Regions from separate parts of the Homo sapiens genome. Here region 1 is linked to region 2. The links are contacts of gene promoters, found by promoter capture Hi-C in blood cells and fetal thymus (Javierre and others, 2016). All regions are on one chromosome and are shown on one strand. Each heading gives the region's core, a stretch centred on a gene start or on the middle of the fragment in contact. The rest is flanking DNA. Distances are from core to core; before and after follow the strand shown.

Region 1 (3,488 bases), core at 299-2,798, 1.8 Mb before region 2:
TTGTCAGTAGTTTACATTCCTTCCCTGCCATGTGTGAAATCTCCTTTCTGTGTCATTTGAAAGCCATCCGTTTTTACCTTGGTGTGTGAATCGGGGTCATCTGTGGAGCTTCTGAAAAGCAGAGCTCAATTCAGACTTACTGAATAACAATCTCCCACAATAGGAGCTAAACATGTATATTCTTTAAAGCTCCATAGTTGGTTCTGATGCATACTCGTTTATGAACAATTCTTTCAAAAAAAAAAAAAAACCCTTCAAAGAAGGTTGACAGCTTAGGTAAATACTATGGTTAAAAGAGAACTTGCCTGTGAAGTTCCGCTACATGACAATAGTAATAAAAATAATAATAGCTAAATCTTATTGTGCACTCACTGTATATCTTGCACTGTTCTAAACTGTTTCCCAATGTTCCTTCTTTCAGCCCTTCTAAAACTATTATTATCCCCATTCTGCAGGAAACTGGAACATGGAAAGGTTAAGTAACTCATGTAAAGTCCCAAAGCCCAGTAGGCATAAGGCTGGATTATGAACCCTGGCATAACTCTAGAGTGCCCATGCTCAGTCATGACTTTGTAGAAGAATTTATTCTCACCATTCATTAATTTACTAATTAATTTACTTGGTAAAAAACAGGCATAGGTATAAGAGACATAAATATGTCTCTAGTTTTCCTCTGTAATACTTACCACAAATATATGCAATTGTGTAATCTGTTTAATACCGATTTCTGCTAGGATATAAGGATTATGAGAAAATGAGCATGTCTCTCATTTACTATGTCACTGCCATATATAGCACAATGCCTAATGCATGACAGCATTCAATAAATATTTGTAGACTGACTGATTCAATGAATGAATGATAGTCTGTAGACTACAGCTGTGTATTTCTTATTAAACGAGTCATACTTGTAAATGACTTAATCCAGAGCATTAGTGCTCTATCAAAGTACTGATGGAGAGCAGTGGGAGAAAGGAAGAAACAAAATGCCATCATATCCAGAGTACCGCTTGACTCTCTCAATAAGCCCATGACAGGCAGTGGAGGTATTATTATCCTATTGTAAGGGAAAAAATCCTCAACATGAGTATGTCTAGAAATTCATGCTATATTCCCACAACCTGAGCATAGAACCAGAGAGATTGGTCCAAATCCCATTTCTGACACTTCTATCTGCGGCCTTAGACAAGCTCTTAACATTACTGGCTTCAGCTATTTCATCTACAGAGAGAATTATGTACCCATCTTGCTTCTAATTCACTGATATATTCCAAAAACTTACAAGAATACCTAGAATATAGTTGGTGCTACATTAATTACCAAATTGTGAGGTTATTTAGGACCTTAATTATGAAAACATGTAAAAAAGTATTCAGCACTGTGACTAACAGAGTTAGTCACAGTTCCCTTGTGACTAAATGTCCCCAAAATGTTTTCCTCACTTTCCTTTCTTTTAAAATCTTAAAACGAGTCTTTGTCCCCCTTCCTCATTTCAGACTCCTTTCTAAGCACATGTGGTCCCTTCTCTAATGAGTCTTAGGAGGTTTAGCCCTATTTCCATGAAATCACCTAGTTTTCTAATGCAGAGGGAAGCTGAATCTAGTTTTTAAATCAGGACAAATTCTAACTTACAATGGGAATTCATTTGCTTTCTTATTCCCACAAGACATATTAAACATAACTCTCTAAGTTCTCATTCTTTCTAAAACCCACGTCCTCACTTAAATATATTTTTTAATGATCCTGTAAAAAAAGGCTTCAAAACTTGCAATGCTACTTTATTTTCACAATTCAGACTAATAAAATCAATTAACTACAAGGCACACATTAGATTTGTTTGCACTGAAGAACAATTAACTGGACATTTAAATCCAGCATTCCCAGATTTATGATAACCCACATGTACACGGAGCTCCACAAGCCAACTTCCCTCCTCAGACTCCTCTCTACAACTTCTTCCTCTTAGTGTAAAAGTAGAGCCATTGGGCCAGTGTAATAATAACACAGCCCAGATTCTAAAGACAGATTCTGGGCACTGACAGTGGCTTTTAGGGATTAATGGAACAGGGCTTTTGCCTTTATTGGGGGATGAGGGGGTGAGGGGTGTAAGTGAAATGTCCTATAAGCTCAGGTACATTTCAATGAGGAATAGATGGATGTGTGGTAGGCAGGGTGTTTATTTGGCCTGTGGTAAGAGAGAGGCTGTGCTTGGATGTACAAAAGTTTGCAAACCTAGTGGTTCACAATTTGAGTGCTAAGGAAAAAAAAAGATCCAAACTTTAGAGGGCTTTTTTTTTCAAACAGCAAAGTGAAACACTAGGTCGTTTCTGCAATTATATCCAGCCCTAGCAATTGACATTTTTATTAATTGCTAAAATGTAACAGTATCATATTTACACTACACACTTATTCTTATCCACTAGAAAGACAGTGATGTCAGGATTTATATAGCTAGAGACATGAAAATGGACACAGAGATGAGGTCCCTCTGCAAGCATACATAAGTTTTAAATAACAGTTTAGCAAAGATGTCTTCCATCCAAATAATTTTAATTTTTCAATCAAAAAAATTCCTGATTTAGCTAAATTAATATAATAATAACCTCTCTGTTTTATATTTGGAATTTTGCATTTAAATATTTCATTAAGAAAAAAAAGAGCATGGTGGATCATGCTTGTAATCTTCACATTTTGGTAGGCCAAGGTAGGAGGATCACTTGAGGCCACGACTTTGAAACCAGTCTAGGCAGCAGAGCAAGACCTTGTCTCAACAAAAAAATTTAAAAATTAGCTGGGAATGGTGGTGGGTGCCTGTAGTCCCAGCTACCTGGGAGGCTGAGGCATTAGGATCACTTGAGCCCAGGCATTCGAGGCTGCTGTGAGCTATGACTACACCACTGAACTCCAGCCCGGGCAACAGAATGAGACCCTTTCTTAAAACAAATAAACAAACAAACAAACACAAAAACTACGCCCCCCCCACCCCGCCAGAAAAACAAACTAACAAAAAAAACCACGTTGTTAACAAATAGTTTGGAAGTTACTGAAATCAATCAACTTTATATTTTCAAAATCTTTTAATATACTATGGCTCTATTAAATATTTATGTTTTTATCAATAAGATTGTCTCCTTCAGTATTGCTTAAAATTGGCTCTTTTGAAACATGAACCTAAACGATGTATTTTCAAGGAAGTGAAACAACCACACCATTTGTTAATTTTTTCATTAAGATATCACAAAATTAATTGGGGTTAGGGAATTCTTCACTAAAGTGCAATGACTTTAGGTACACTTATTTTTAAAAGAAATAATACATCGTTTTGTATTTATGTATTCTTATAATCTGGCTTAAATATTTTCTAAAACATCTTCTTGAATTAAGTACAACATTTCTTCCTAACAATGTATGAAAGCTTTAAGTATTATGAGAATAACTTTTAGGATGACAACAATATAAAGAATATGTGTGCAAACCTAAACACAAAA
Region 2 (4,005 bases), core at 783-3,282:
CCCTCCCCCAGTCTTAAGGAAGACCTTTACAGTTTTACTTCTTCACTGTGCTTACTATTATCCAAAATTCCTTGCTCATATAGTTTACCTATTTTCTATCTTACACTCACTAGAATTTAAACTTCATAAGAACAGCGATCTTGCTAGTCTTTCTTACCATTGTATTCACAATGCCTAAAACAACGCCTGACAAAGTAGGATATTCTTTAAAAAATACTTAATGAATGCCTTTCCCTAAGCAAGTCACTTGACTTCTCTACTTAACTCACACTGGTGAGTTTACTACTGCTAGACTAAGCTCTGGATCCAGGAAAAACAAAAGTGGCTAAGGTATGGCTTCTTCAGAAGCTCATCCATTCATTCCCTCAAAAAATATTTATTGAACATATATTACACTATGTTCCAGGTACTATTCAATCTCAGTGTTTAGTAAACACCACAGTAACATGGGATTTGGTTAACCAACAGAAGTGTTTAAACAGGATGAGTACAAAAATAAGTACAAAATGAGAAGTACTATAAAAACGATACTTTATATGTTACAACTATAGCACCCACCTATTTCCTTGTGTCTAGTAATTGGCAGGACCTTATGACAAGAGCCAACTGAAAAACAGCAGTATAAATTCTGGTACTCTAAAAGCCCAGACTTCACCACTGTGCAATATATCCACACAACAAAACTGAACTTGTACTAACTAAATCTGTATAGAATTTTAAAAAGTAAGTTAAAAAAAATTCTGGTACTCACAGGGGACAATACCTATGAATGCCCTTTTCATAGGCACACAGTGACTAAAATATTTGGGGCATGAATTCTCTAGGGGTGACAATAATAAGTGTCATTTTTCATGCTTCTGTTGCACACATAATTATATTTATCTCTAAGGAAAATCAGAGAGTGGGGTGTGGCCTCCCTCAGTGCCACCTGGGCCAGTTGTCTCCCCACATCACCAAATCTGTTATTTCACAGGCTCTAGGACACCCATAGAGGGGGAGTGAGGGACCTGGTATGGTCCCGTGAAGAGCTCTTGTAACACTACTGATTGATGTGACAGACACAGTATGTGTGCAACTTTCCTTTTTCCTTCAAAAGCACTGGTCTAAAGCAGGGATCCCCAACCCCTGGGCAGCAGACAGGTACAGGTTTGTGGCCTATTAGGAACAGGCCACACAGCAGGTGAGCAGGGCTAGAGGATTATGCCTGAGCTCCAGCTCCTGTCAGATGAGCAAAGGCATTAGATTCTCATAGGAGCACAGACCTGATTATGAACTGCGCATGTGAGGGATCTAAATTGCGCCTTCTCAAGAGAATCTAATGCCTGATGATCTGAGATAGAAGAGTGTCATCCCATCTTGCCCCCCACCCCAAACTGTCTTCCATGAAACTGATCCCTGGTGCCAAAAAGGTTGGGGACTGCTGGAAGTGCTTGTCCCCTGGGTTAAAGCCAAGAGGAGTAAACAGGATTAAGGGGCGTGGATGTGGGTGGGTGGGGGAAGAGAGCTTTCTCAGGATCGGCAACCAATCCCAGAATCTCCAGTCGCAGGAGCATGTATGTGAAGGTTTATTTGCAGGGATCCACCGTTTGTAAAATAGTACACGCTTAATAAAATTAATTTTGAGGTCAATCTTAACTGACAGATCTCTTCTTTCTTACTGGCGAGTATTTGTAAAATAAGAAAAACAGGAGGAAAAGAGAACAAACAAGAGAGATGTGGGATGACGGAGTAAGGAAAGGAGTCACGGAGAGGAGAGACAATGTCTGTGGCTGTTCCCTCAGCGTCTGGGAGAAGAGCCCAAGAATCCCATTGAACTGAGGGGGAGGAAAGGCCCTCCTGCGGCCTACCGCAAGGAAACGATCGCGGCAGACCCGGGACTAGCGCCAAAGGGCTTGGAAGGGCGGCGTTAAGAAAAATGGGCCGTACCTACAACTTCTTTCGCAGCCCTCGCTGGCCCGGGAGCGGCCCAGGAGCCCAGTGACCGTTGCGTAAGCCACGCGCCACCCAGGTGGGCAGGGTGGTGACGCGAAAGCCCGGATAGACTTCCGCGCAGGGGCGGGGCGGGGCGAGGAGGCGGCAGCGCGTTTAAGTGACGTCTTGGCTGTCCGCGCCGGCAGAGGCGAGGGTTCTGGGGTTTCTGGGACTGTCTGGTGTGTTTTCTGTCTATTGAACCCTTTCCTTTCGACGTCTCTTCTGAATATTGACTCATCGGGTTGTAGAAATCCAGGGACAGAGTTGACATCACTGGGCATTTTAGCCAAAAAGCAGTGCTCGGGACTGCATGTGCCAGAAGTAAACTTGTCAAAACTCAGATTGTGTTTCCCCTAAAGTCAGCTTAAAGTGCAATGGTAGAAGAGCACGGTCTCTCCCCAAGACGGCCTGAGCTTAAACTGCAGCGCTGTCACTTGCTAGCTATGGGACCTAGGCAAATACATCGTCTCCCTGAGGTTGTCTTCTCATCTGTAAAGGACGCTGTGGTGGTGGTGTGAGAATAAATGAGACATGGCAAGTGTCTGGAACAAAGACGCTGTGTACAAAGTAAACACTTAATATACTGTTATCAGTATAAAACCTTTGTGAGTTTTTTTTTTTTTTCCGCATGAAATCTTATGTGGAAAGTTGTATGTGAAAGAAATGAAAGCGGAGCTGCGTTGATGGTGGGCCCAGAAGCTTTGGCCTTTCAGTCCCAAAGTTTCCAGTAATAGAATCCGCGCTTCCTATAAAAGACAAAAACAACTGTTATTGGAGAAAGTGTAAACTTCTTAGAAAGACAAACTGCCCTTTCCTATCTAATGTTTCTCCTGACACTCAATGTTTACTCTTGAACACTGTATTCCTTTTTGCCTCAGTGCGTTCTGTAAAGTTAATTCCTCTACCGGAGTGTTCTTTTTCTTAGTCATCATCTAAGATCTGATCCAAATTACCGTTCCTTCTTGGGTAACTTAAATACGAAATTATCTTTTTATTGGTTTTGTTGACGTTGTTGAGACAGGGTCTCACTCTATTACCCCGGCTGGAGTGCAGTGCGATCTAGGCTCCCTGCAGCCTCCTCCTCCTTGGTTCAAGCGATCCTCCTGCCTCCTGAGTAGCTGGGACTACAGGTGGGCACCACTACCCCCGGCTAATTTTTGTATTTTTAGTAGAGAGGAGTTTCACATATTGCCCAGGAGGACTTGAACTCCTGGACTTAAGTGATCTGCCCGTCTTGGCTTCCCACAGTACTGGGATTACAAGCGTGAGCCACCACAGCCCTGCCCTTTTTATTGTTTTTAACACCTTCCCTCCTTCAACGTGTTATAGACATCTCAGCAAGGATTTATTTTTCTTCCTCGTTTCAGGAGAGTAGACAGGGTTTCATGATTATAGGGTTAAGGAAATGTTTTGTACTCATGAAAAGGAAATGTTTTGTACTCACAGGAAAAGCAGGTAGATCCCTAAAGATAATGGGAGTTGGGACAAATGGTAAACCTGGGAAGGAAGACCTTTGCTAGGAGTCTGTTTGCCTCCAAGGCACTACTCTTATGCTCTAGAAGGAATGGGCTCCTGGAGAGGTAAGTGCTTTAGGGTCCATGTAAGGAAGATGGAGCGCACATCAACAAATGGAGTTTTGGAATTCTCACCAGGCCAGAGGGCTCAGGCTGGATTTGAGTCAGTCAACTATAAATATAATATTACGTACTCCCCAAATGCCATGAAGCAATTCCCACTTGTTACAGAGAGGTACATAAATGATTCATATAAAAATATAATGTTCTGAGACATTAAAAAAATACAGTGGTTCTTTGGGAGACAATATAATGAAAATTTACTAATAAAAAACATTTAAACAATCATCTGATAACCTTTCTTATAAAAATTAAGTTTTAAAAATAAGTAAATTGATTATATTTGCAACAAAGTCATGGAAAGCAAAAGCTTTTGAGGAATAAGGAGAATCTTAACTGAGAGCAATTTTTTAAAACTATACATGACATGATAAAAAAAGTTTTAACACTTTCTACATAG

Evidence for each region. Contacts are between HindIII fragments. The CHiCAGO score rates a contact against its expected background, and 5 or more counts as called.
Region 1: a fragment that was not itself captured here is called in contact with the fragment with the promoter of SLC9B1 in region 2 in 3 of 17 cell types (naive CD4 T cells, naive CD8 T cells and total CD8 T cells); the score reaches 6.5 in naive CD4 T cells.

Annotation. Positions count from the first base shown.
Region 1 is chr4:101,171,116-101,174,603 of GRCh38, forward strand. The region is part of intron 2 of PPP3CA (protein phosphatase 3 catalytic subunit alpha); the gene reads right to left. Among named protein-coding and RNA genes, the nearest start is that of MIR8066, 68 kb to the right of the region's middle. The HindIII fragment of the contact is 3,729 bases long and covers 1-3,413 here.
Region 2 is chr4:103,017,673-103,021,677 of GRCh38, forward strand. It overlaps SLC9B1 (solute carrier family 9 member B1), which reads right to left and starts at 2,033. Exons shown (of 12, transcript NM_139173.4): 1 at 1,927-2,033. It also overlaps a transcript of SLC9B2 not described here. RefSeq lists an enhancer at 1,874-2,374. The HindIII fragment of the contact is 6,332 bases long and covers 1-2,668 here.